2 separate regions of the Homo sapiens genome follow, and region 1 is linked to region 2. Evidence: promoter capture Hi-C in 16 types of primary human blood cells and fetal thymus (Javierre and others, 2016). All regions are on one chromosome and are shown on one strand. Each heading gives the region's core, a stretch centred on a gene start or on the middle of the fragment in contact. The rest is flanking DNA. Distances are from core to core; before and after follow the strand shown. Region 1 holds the start of IBTK (inhibitor of Bruton tyrosine kinase). Region 2 holds the start of EEF1A1 (eukaryotic translation elongation factor 1 alpha 1).

What was found. Contacts are between HindIII fragments. The CHiCAGO score rates a contact against its expected background, and 5 or more counts as called.
Region 1: a contact is called between the fragment with the promoter of IBTK here and the fragment with the promoter of EEF1A1 in region 2, in 2 of 17 cell types (total CD4 T cells and total CD8 T cells). The highest score is 7.4, in total CD4 T cells.

Annotation. Positions count from the first base shown.
Region 1 is chr6:82,243,010-82,248,993 of GRCh38, reverse strand. It overlaps IBTK (inhibitor of Bruton tyrosine kinase), which reads left to right and starts at 1,250. Exons shown (of 29, transcript NM_015525.4): 1 at 1,250-1,432. RefSeq lists a silencer at 1,448-1,617. The HindIII fragment of the contact is 2,262 bases long and covers 94-2,355 here.
Region 2 is chr6:73,518,760-73,524,344 of GRCh38, reverse strand. It overlaps EEF1A1 (eukaryotic translation elongation factor 1 alpha 1), which reads left to right and starts at 3,313. Exons shown (of 8, transcript NM_001402.6): 1 at 3,313-3,345; 2 at 4,289-4,462; 3 at 4,829-5,008; 4 at 5,117-5,413; 5 at 5,497-5,585. The coding sequence starts at 4,319. EEF1A1-AS1 (EEF1A1 antisense RNA 1) reads right to left here and starts at 734. Exons shown (of 5, transcript NR_187283.1): 1 at 510-734. RefSeq lists silencers at 489-668, 709-848, 2,556-2,785 and enhancers at 2,508-3,330, 3,366-3,445, 3,496-3,605, 3,331-4,152, 3,896-4,195 and 1 more. The HindIII fragment of the contact is 5,848 bases long and covers 9-5,585 here.

The DNA.
Region 1 (5,984 bases), core at 1-2,500, 8.7 Mb before region 2:
GTCTCGATCTCCTGACCTCGTGATCCGCCCGCCTCGGCCTCCCACATTGCTGGGATTACAGGCGTGAGCCACCGCGCCCGGCCAACTTAAGCTTATTTTCAAAACCACTCAATTTTGACATTACAAACTGGTTTTTGTTTTGTAGAAGGACATTAAGAATAAAGAGCAAAGAAACAATTATGTGCTGGGAAGGGCAGTAGGAGGGCTGGGTCCTAGTCTCCCTTTCTCTTTCGCTAAGCAGCTGTGTGGCTTTGGGCTAGTAACCTACCCTCCCACAAAAAAGGCTTCAAAAGAGAGCAAGCAGAGCTCAGTGGGCATTAAGACATGCGCAACTCCTTTCTTTTAGAGATTAGATGAGGTCGACTCAGTGGCTTGTAAAACTCAACGTGGCAGAGCTGTACAGCCAACTCATGATTCTTAGTGTCGTTTGTTTTGAGTCACACTACACCTCCTTGAACAATCATTTACTGAGTGCTTACCGTATTAGGCATTCAGCAGCAGTGTGTTTCCCATTCAGTAACCTAGTATTGATTATTGGCTACTGTCCCTCCTAGCATTTTTCACTTGACCACTTTCTAAATGGCCTTTAGATTCAGAGTTCAAGTGGAAAAAGCCTAGTGTAAGCCTGGTGTCAGGCAGTGAGTGGCGTGACCCGGGTCGGCAGCTAGTCCTACGGTGGTGATCTAAGAGGGCAGTGACGCCTTCTGACCAAGGGAGTGACTGCCAGATAATCCGGGTGTATGGAGATCCAGAGAGGGGTGAGGCTGGGTTTACGGAGACTACACCTTTGGCTTTGCAGTAACCCCACTGCTAAGGCCATGGGAGGAAACTCTTCTGTGCAGGACGCCTATGCACTTGGCTTCTGCTGCGTAGCGACCGGGTGTCCAAGGCATCCTGCCAGGTCTCCTTCTCCACTCGGGTTTAGCCTCCCCCGCGAGTCTCCAGCTACCTAGAGAGACGTTTCTAACTACGAGATGGCTGGCCTGAAAGGGACACTCCCATCACCGTTGTTGGCCTAGAGTTCCCCGCTGCGGCCTTTTTCTTTTCCCCGCCCCTGGCCTGAGTCAGCGGCCCCAAGGCCGGCGAGGTCAAGTTCCTTTGGGGCGCCAGGGAAAAGGCCATGGCAGAGGTGCTGCCACGCGAAACCTTCTGGGCAGGCACCAGCCAATCATCAAGAGACATACAGGAGCCCCAGCCAACCAGCGCCCGCCTTATTACTGGGAACCGCCCGCTCGGGCCCTTCCTCTACATCCCCGTTCCCGATTCCTGTAGTAGCGGCTGTATTGCAGCCGCCTGCCGAACTGACCCGGGTCTGGGGACTGGCCCCTCTGGCGCCGTTCGGTTTCTCTTATTGCCTTCACTGAGGATGAGTCCCTTTGTGGCTCTATGTGGACCCTGCGGAATCCACCGGCGCAGTTTCATCTAGCGACTGGTGAGGGAGGGCTTGGCGCTGCCCGACCGTGCGGTGCGGCTTCCCTTCAGCCCGGGGGCAGGGGGAGAGTATTCGCCTTCTGGAGGGTGCGGGTGGCTGCGGACGGCGGCGCGGGGGGACCGTGGGGAGGGGACTCTGTGGCCCCGAGGCTGCCGGGCTTCGCGCGAGGCGGCGCGGAGAGGGCCGAGTGGCCAGGGTCCCTACCGCCCCCCTCAGCTAATGAATGGCCTGTCCCGGCGATGCGCTACGCTCCCGTCCTGCTGGACACGCCCTCCAGCGACATTGCATTCCTAGTTGTGATAGTTATGTAGTGTCACTTTCCTTCGAGTCTTGGATTTGAAGCCATTCCTGTGGGCGCTCATGTTCCTTATCCCCTTCCTGGAGTCACAAGTTTGAGTCCACCCTGGGGATACTGACTCTGGGGAAGCAGGTCGTGAAATCTGATAAGTGGACATTGATTGCTATGTAAAAAGGAACTGATTCTTTTTGGAGGGTGGAGGGTTGAGAGAGACAGAGAAGACAGGCCCTTTGTTTTTGTAACAGGCAGAGCTGTCTGGCTCAAAGAGTTTTAGTTCAGCTGCGAATTAGGTAACATAGGCCGTCCTTGACTCCTGTTTTCCAACGTAGTTCATAAAACTTGACTGTGTTAGCCAGAGATTCATGTAGCACCTTTTAACTTATGCCTCGAAGTAGGCCATTTGAAATTTATCAGAAATACTGAAAGGATATGACTTTTATGAGTAGTAGTGTTTCAGTGCCCATAAAGTGGTGTAAATTCACAGGCTTGCCAGCCCCCTCTTGATCATTTCTCTTTTTGTATTTTGAATTCCTTAACTTTTATTTGTTTTAGAAATTGAGGCAAGGTAGATGAGGACAAAACTGGTTTCTAAAAATAATTACATTTGCAAATATTTGCAGAAGCTTTAGTCAAACCAGAGTTTACTTCAAGAAATTTTTTAGGCCGGGCGCGGTGGCTCACGCCTGTAATCCCAGCTACTGGGGAGGCTGAGAATTGCTTGAACCCGGGAGGTGGAGGTTGCAGTGAGCCGAGATCGCGCCGCTGCACTCCATCCTGGGCGACTGAGTGTGGCACCATCTCAAAAAAAAAAAAAAAAAAAAAGATGCCTGTAATCCCAGCAGTCTGGGAGGCCAAGGTGGGCGGATCACTTGAGGTCAGGAGTTCGAGGCCAACTTGGTGAAACCCCGTCTCTACCAAAAATACAAAAAAATCAGCCAGGCATGGTGATGTGTGCCTGTAATCCCAGCTACTCGGGAGGCTGAGGCAGAATCGCTTGAGTCTCCAGCTGCCCTACCAAACTGCTTTTGAATTCAATTATTTTGAATTGAATTCCATGGTACTTTTTTCTACTACACTATACTACTTGCATTGAAATTTTTCTAACTGCCTTTTGGGAGAGCAGTTTGGTAGCATAGAATAGGTGGGATCAAGAGCACTTTTCTGTCGGTATTATTTTAGGTAGGCTTTTTAAACTTTCACATGAATCTCCTCATCAGAAAATGAAAGTGATCATATTTACAGGGGCAATAATAAGGATTATATTTATGTAGAGCACTGTGTATAATGTATAAAACAAAATTTCACCTATAATTTTTGTGTGTTTTTTCCGTTGTTTAATTTTGTTTTGCTTTACTCACTTCCAAAGTATTGACCCCTTACTCTTCTTTCTAGTTTCCCTATCTGTTCTCCAAGCCAGAAACCTGGGAATTACCACCACATCTTGTCAATTCAAGATCCTAAGTATGTCTTTGGATTGCCTGCCCTTTTTTTTTTAAATCTCTAAGAAAAGGCACATAAGGCTGTTCAAAATCCTGTCTATCCTTGTGTGTATGTTAGGCCTCACTTCTTTCTGTCTTCTGAATTATTTAGAAATTTTGGAATGGACCAAGATGATTCTAGTTCTTTTATATTTACTATCCCTTCTGCTTCAAATGTGCTCTCACCCAGAATTTATCAGGCCAACACATATGGTACTCTTTTTTTTTTTAGAAGGAGTCTCGCTCAGTCGCTCAGGCTGGAGTGCAGTTGCATGATCTTGGCTCTCTGCAGCCTTGACTGACCAGTTTTAAGTGATCCTCCCACCTCAGCCTCCAGAGTAGTTGGGACTACAGGGATGTGCCACTACGCCTAATTTTTGTATTTTTTTTTGTAGCGATGGCTTTCACCATGTTGCCCAGGCTGATTTCAAAGTCCTGGGCTCAAGTGATTTGCCTGCCTCAGCCTAACAAAGTGTTGGGACTACAGGCATGAGCCACTGTGCCTGGCCAGTACTCATCTTTTAAGTCTTAGTTTATACATAGTTTATCTCCTGTAGAAAGTCTTACCTGGACCCCTCTTCTGCACTCCCCGTTCCTATGTGTCACTTGTTTTATCTTGACCATAGGTTTATAATTATGATATGTTTTAGTTACTTGCCTAAATAAAATTACTCTCTTCTACCAAACTGTGACCCTTTGATAATAGGAACTGTGTAATAGATCATAAGTTTTGTTCAGTTAGTACATATGTTAAACTAGCTATGCATCCACCTGAGTATTATCCATGAACCTGTATTTTATTTTATCTAAAATATTTAGGTCCTAATTATTTTTGTATTCCCAATGCCTTGTGACCTACTATGGATGCGCTGAAGAAGACAGTGTAACGTAGCAGAAATAGCACGGACCTCATCATTAAACAGATCTGTATTTGAAGTCTGACTCCCTCTTTTCTTGGTGGTATGATTTAGGTGGTTTACTTGACTGGTCTGATGTAAAGCATTCCGTATGTATTAGGTCTTTAAATGCTTATTTCCTTTGCTTTCTTCCCCTTCTTTAAGCAGTTTTTGAATGCATAGATAAGAAGTACAATAGGCATTGGAAATATGGGCCTGGAGTTTAGGGCAAATATGTGAGCAAGAGACAGATTTGGGGATTTATAATCATGTGTACGGTAGAGTTAAAAGCATGAAAAGGATTGAAACTATCAGGAACAATATGAAGTAGAGGACTGAGGATTATTTCAGAGAAGCCCAGTTTGAAGGACAGGGGAAGCGATAATGCCCTAGGAAGAAGTGGTTAAGAGAGAGAGCCCATGCTTAAATGTTTCTGCGACTTCCTGCCCTTCCTGGATCTCTTTTAGACTCCTTAAGGGAATGAGGTTTTAAAGACATAAAAGCAGGGAAGGCAAGTAAGAATTGAAAATATCTAAAAGTGTTTGGTAATTTGGAAGTCATTAGTAACTTTAGCAATAATGATTTCTTTGGAGAAGTGGTAACAAGTGATAATGAAGCTCAAACATGAATTTTGGAGTTAAAATGTATTACCTTTTTATGACTGAAGAAACAATAGTAATGAAAACTATTATTTGTCGAATGCATATTTAGTGCCAGGTACCATGTTAGGTAGTTTCATTTATCATTATAGTAACCATGTGAAGTCCATGGATTGTTTCTATTTTCAGATGAAGAAACGACTTGGAGAGATTATGTCATTTTTTAGTTATATAACTGATAACAGCTGACATTGCTATATTTGAATCTATGTATGTAAAACTCTAAGAAATCCTAGCTCTTAATCGCTTCCATGTTTATGTTCATAGTATTCTGTAGGTGCCGCTTTCTCTATATGATAGTATGGAATGACTTTTTAACATTCTTTTTTCCCCCCTTTAAATGTTTACATTATATATACTAATGAATTAGGGAATTCTTTTCTGTTGTATCTTAATTCTTTAATGTAAGGTTTGAGTGATTCACCAGTAAGTAGTTCCTTCCAGGTATTATGCATACAATGAAAATACAAACATGGTGGGATTTTAGAGCTTTAAAAGAATGAAATTAACTGGATGAACTATTTTGCCACATACAATAAATAGTCCCTACTTATCCAAGGACACATTCTAAAACCCCCAGTGGATGCCTGAAACTGCAGAGAGTACTGAACCCTATATATGCTATGTTTTTACAATTTGCTAACCAAGAGGGCTACTCAGTGACTATCGAGTTGGTAGCATGTACAGTATGGCAATGCTGGACAAATGTATGATTCATGTCTCAGGTGAGGTGGAGTGGTTTGGAGTGGGACACTATGAGATTTCATCATACTGCTCAGAATAGTATGCAATTTAAAACATAAATTGTTTATTTCCAAAATTTTCATTTAATATTTTTGGACTATGGTTGATTGTGGGTAATAGAAACCATAGAAAGCAAATGGATAATGGGGAACTACTGTGTCATGCTTTCCATTTTTAACCTTTTAAAGTACTTGACGATTGGTACCTTTTTTTCTCTTTGCTACCAAACACTTTTTTTTTTTTTTTTTGAGACAGAGTCTCTCTGTCGCCCAGGCTGGAGTGCAGTGGCACGATCTCGGCTCACTGCAAGCTCCGCCTCCCAGGTTCACGCCATTCTCCTGCCTCAGCCTCCCAAGTAGCTGGGACTACAGGCGCCCGCCACCACACCCGGCTAATTTTTTGTATTTTTAGTAGAGACGAGGTTTCACCGTGTTAGCCAGGATGGTCTTGATCTCCTGACCTCGTGATTCGCCTGCC
Region 2 (5,585 bases), core at 2,064-4,563:
TGAAAGCTTGGTGAATCACAATTAAGTACCTCAAAGAACTATTCTTGTTTGCCTTATTCCTATGTAAATAACTGAAATCTTTGTTTTTCTTCCTAAAAGGGGTCATGTTGATTTTTACTTACAATGTATTTTAAGTTTGTCACTCTAAATGGTTATGAGCAAGTTTAAGAAAAATCTTCAGCAAATACTACCTTAGATTATGACCCCAAAACACATTTACGAGCCTCAACATCGTTACTGTTACCGCTTTAACATTTAAGGCAGTAAAAAGCATACTGGATCTCTGTAAAGGCGTAGGGGTGCGGGGAATCCGTTATGATTATGTTGAAAACATAGGGTCTGGGGAAAAAGGGATTTAAAATAAGAAGAAAAAGAAGACTTGGGACTTAAAAAGTCTTTTAGAGGCCAGCTCACGGTGACAAAAACCGACCCTCACCCCGAGCCACGTGAGGTTTTCTGCTTCCTCCCAGGCCCTTCCTTCCGCAGTCAGAAGGCGGAAGAAAAGTTACCTCAAGGTGGGGCGAGTGGCAGGGCGGACCCTGGCGACCTGACGCTGCGGAGGCTCGAGCGGCGTATCCATACCACCCAGCTGTTCGCCGCGGGAACCCGCCGGCCCGCAGGTGACCCAGCGCTGGAAAAACGCCAGCGACGTGGCCTGGCGAGCTGGCGCGGGGCAAGGACCACCCGCGCCCGCCTTGCCGCCCCAGCCTCCCTCCCTAGGAAGCAGGGTGCGCCCCGGTGCGCGCGGGGCTTCCCCGGACCGGCGTTCCAGTCCCTCTCCGGCTTCCGGCCCACCCCGGCCCCACTGAGAGCAGAAATGTGATCTCTGCCCTGAGAAAATGCTCGTGGCCAGTGACTACCCCTAACGCACAATAATATGGCTCCGATGGGCTCAAAGGTATTGGTTTTTTGTTTTGTTTTGAGACAAGGTCTCACTCGGTCGCCCAGGCTGGAGTGCAATTGCGTGATCTTGACTCACTGCAACCTCCGCTTCCCGGGCTCAAGCGATTCTCCTGCCTCAGCCTCCCAAGTAGCTGGGATTACAGGCATGCGCCACCACGCCCGGCTAATTTTGTATTTTCAGTAGACAGGGTTTCACCATGTTGGCCAGGCTGGTCTCGAACTCCTGGCCTCAAATTATACGTCCGCCTCGGCCTCCCAAGGTGCTGGTATTATAGGCGTGAGCCACCGCGCCCGGTCCAGTGTTGGTTCTTAAACGCGAGAATTGAGATCTCCCTTCACCTAATGAAAGTCTCGGCCACTATCGCAACATTCAGAACACCCAGTCTGTGTTGCACAATATGTTACTTAGGTATAAATCAAGGATTCATGTAATTTTGTCATTCCTTGCGTGATATTTTAAAAAACATTCTGTGTAAGGTATTTATAAAGCGTTTACTATTATCCGCAATCACAGGGGCTTGAGGAAAAACTTTGACTGTGGCCGGGCACCGTGGCTCACGCCTGTAATCCCAGCACTTTGGGAGACCGAGCCGGGTGGATCACTTGAGGTCAGCAGTTCGAGACCAGCCTGGCCAACATGGTGAAACCCCCGTCTCTTCTAAAAATACAAAAATTTGTGGGGCGCGCTTGTAGTCCCAGCTACTTGGGAGGCTGAGGCAGGAGGAATCGCTTGAACTCGGGAGGCAGAGCTTGCAGTGAGCCGAGATCGCGCCACTGCACTCCAGCCTGGGCAACAGAGTAGAACTCCGTCTCAAAAAAAAAAAAAAAAAAGAAAGAAAGAAAAAAAAGTGGACTGTGAAAACTGAAAGGACTAGAAAAACTACACTACAAAGATACAGAAACCAAGAAAGCACCATAGCGTTTGCCTTCAACTGCTTCCCAACTTGTTTTCCTCTTCCAATTTGATTGTGGTTTCCTCTCCAGAAGGAACTCCACAGTACTTAGCGTTGGCCACATAGTAGGTTCTCAAATACTTGTTAATAAATAAGTTTGTTCGAGAAGCTGGGCAATGATATTCTACAGCTGGAAGAAGAAACATAATGATCTAGTAATTAGCTCATTAAAAATAAACGTTCTTCTTTCCTCAGAGGAGCATTTCCCAAGGCCTGCCTTGATAGCCATCCAAAAAGGCCAAGCTCATCCAATCTTGCCCTAGATTTATGCTAAAATGCAGTTACAATCGATAGGATGACAGAAAACGACAGCACTTATTTAAATATAATAGGCACTTATTTAAATAGGAGAAGCTGTGACTTCATAGCAAGTGTTGGGGTTAGGAAACTGGGTGGATAAACTTGCTGATGCTGTAGATCTTAGCCTCTACATGAGATCATGTGGAAAATCTGAAAGCATTTTAGGTTCCTTATGTTTGCAATCAAATAACTGTACACCTTTTAATTTAAAAAGTACCATGAGGCACACACACACACTCGCAGGAACTTTTTGGCGTAACAAAACTAGAATTAGATCTAAAGCTAACTGTAGGACTGAGTCTATTCTAAACTGAAAGCCTGGACATCTGGAGTACCAGGGGGAGATGACGTGTTACGGGCTTCCATAAAAGCAGCTGGCTTTGAATGGAAGGAGCCAAGAGGCCAGCACAGGAGCGGATTCGTCGCTTTCACGGCCATCGAGCCGAACCTCTCGCAAGTCCGTGAGCCGTTAAGGAGGCCCCCAGTCCCGACCCTTCGCCCCAAGCCCCTCGGGGTCCCCGGGCCTGGTACTCCTTGCCACACGGGAGGGGCGCGGAAGCCGGGGCGGAGGAGGAGCCAACCCCGGGCTGGGCTGAGACCCGCAGAGGAAGACGCTCTAGGGATTTGTCCCGGACTAGCGAGATGGCAAGGCTGAGGACGGGAGGCTGATTGAGAGGCGAAGGTACACCCTAATCTCAATACAACCTTTGGAGCTAAGCCAGCAATGGTAGAGGGAAGATTCTGCACGTCCCTTCCAGGCGGCCTCCCCGTCACCACCCCCCCCAACCCGCCCCGACCGGAGCTGAGAGTAATTCATACAAAAGGACTCGCCCCTGCCTTGGGGAATCCCAGGGACCGTCGTTAAACTCCCACTAACGTAGAACCCAGAGATCGCTGCGTTCCCGCCCCCTCACCCGCCCGCTCTCGTCATCACTGAGGTGGAGAAGAGCATGCGTGAGGCTCCGGTGCCCGTCAGTGGGCAGAGCGCACATCGCCCACAGTCCCCGAGAAGTTGGGGGGAGGGGTCGGCAATTGAACCGGTGCCTAGAGAAGGTGGCGCGGGGTAAACTGGGAAAGTGATGTCGTGTACTGGCTCCGCCTTTTTCCCGAGGGTGGGGGAGAACCGTATATAAGTGCAGTAGTCGCCGTGAACGTTCTTTTTCGCAACGGGTTTGCCGCCAGAACACAGGTAAGTGCCGTGTGTGGTTCCCGCGGGCCTGGCCTCTTTACGGGTTATGGCCCTTGCGTGCCTTGAATTACTTCCACGCCCCTGGCTGCAGTACGTGATTCTTGATCCCGAGCTTCGGGTTGGAAGTGGGTGGGAGAGTTCGAGGCCTTGCGCTTAAGGAGCCCCTTCGCCTCGTGCTTGAGTTGAGGCCTGGCTTGGGCGCTGGGGCCGCCGCGTGCGAATCTGGTGGCACCTTCGCGCCTGTCTCGCTGCTTTCGATAAGTCTCTAGCCATTTAAAATTTTTGATGACCTGCTGCGACGCTTTTTTTCTGGCAAGATAGTCTTGTAAATGCGGGCCAAGATCTGCACACTGGTATTTCGGTTTTTGGGGCCGCGGGCGGCGACGGGGCCCGTGCGTCCCAGCGCACATGTTCGGCGAGGCGGGGCCTGCGAGCGCGGCCACCGAGAATCGGACGGGGGTAGTCTCAAGCTGGCCGGCCTGCTCTGGTGCCTGGCCTCGCGCCGCCGTGTATCGCCCCGCCCTGGGCGGCAAGGCTGGCCCGGTCGGCACCAGTTGCGTGAGCGGAAAGATGGCCGCTTCCCGGCCCTGCTGCAGGGAGCTCAAAATGGAGGACGCGGCGCTCGGGAGAGCGGGCGGGTGAGTCACCCACACAAAGGAAAAGGGCCTTTCCGTCCTCAGCCGTCGCTTCATGTGACTCCACGGAGTACCGGGCGCCGTCCAGGCACCTCGATTAGTTCTCGAGCTTTTGGAGTACGTCGTCTTTAGGTTGGGGGGAGGGGTTTTATGCGATGGAGTTTCCCCACACTGAGTGGGTGGAGACTGAAGTTAGGCCAGCTTGGCACTTGATGTAATTCTCCTTGGAATTTGCCCTTTTTGAGTTTGGATCTTGGTTCATTCTCAAGCCTCAGACAGTGGTTCAAAGTTTTTTTCTTCCATTTCAGGTGTCGTGAAAACTACCCCTAAAAGCCAAAATGGGAAAGGAAAAGACTCATATCAACATTGTCGTCATTGGACACGTAGATTCGGGCAAGTCCACCACTACTGGCCATCTGATCTATAAATGCGGTGGCATCGACAAAAGAACCATTGAAAAATTTGAGAAGGAGGCTGCTGAGGTATGTTTAATACCAGAAAGGGAAAGATCAACTAAAATGAGTTTTACCAGCAGAATCATTAGGTGATTTCCCCAGAACTAGTGAGTGGTTTAGATCTGAATGCTAATAGTTAAGACCTTACTTATGAAATAATTTTGCTTTTGGTGACTTCTGTAATCGTATTGCTAGTGAGTAGATTTGGATGTTAATAGTTAAGATCCGACTTATAAAAGTTTGATTTTTGGTTGCTTCTGTAACCCAAAGTGACTAAAATCACTTTGGACTTGGAGTTGTAAAGTGGAAACTGCCAATTAAGGGCTGGGGACAAGGAAATTGAAGCTGGAGTTTGTGTTTTAGTAACCAAGTAACGACTCTTAATCCTTACAGATGGGAAAGGGCTCCTTCAAGTATGCCTGGGTCTTGGATAAACTGAAAGCTGAGCGTGAACGTGGTATCACCATTGATATCTCCTTGTGGAAATTTGAGACCAGCAAGTACTATGTGACTATCATTGATGCCCCAGGACACAGAGACTTTATCAAAAACATGATTACAGGGACATCTCAGGTTGGTGGGATTAATAATTCTAGGTTTCTTTATCCCAAAAGGCTTGCTTTGTACACTGGTTTTGTCATTTGGAGAGTTGACAGGGATATGTCTTTGCTTTCTTTAAAGGCTGACTGTGCTGTCCTGATTGTTGCTGCTGGTGTTGGTGAATTTGAAGCTGGTATCTCCAAGAATGGGCAGACCCGAGAGCATGCCCTTCTGGCTTACACACTGGGTGTGAAACAACTAATTGTCGGTGTTAACAAAATGGATTCCACTGAGCCACCCTACAGCCAGAAGAGATATGAGGAAATTGTTAAGGAAGTCAGCACTTACATTAAGAAAATTGGCTACAACCCCGACACAGTAGCATTTGTGCCAATTTCTGGTTGGAATGGTGACAACATGCTGGAGCCAAGTGCTAACGTAAGTGGCTTTCAAGACCATTGTTAAAAAGCTCTGGGAATGGCGATTTCATGCTTACACAAATTGGCATGCTTGTGTTTCAGATGCCTTGGTTCAAGGGATGGAAAGTCACCCGTAAGGATGGCAATGCCAGTGGAACCACGCTGCTTGAGGCTCTGGACTGCATCCTACC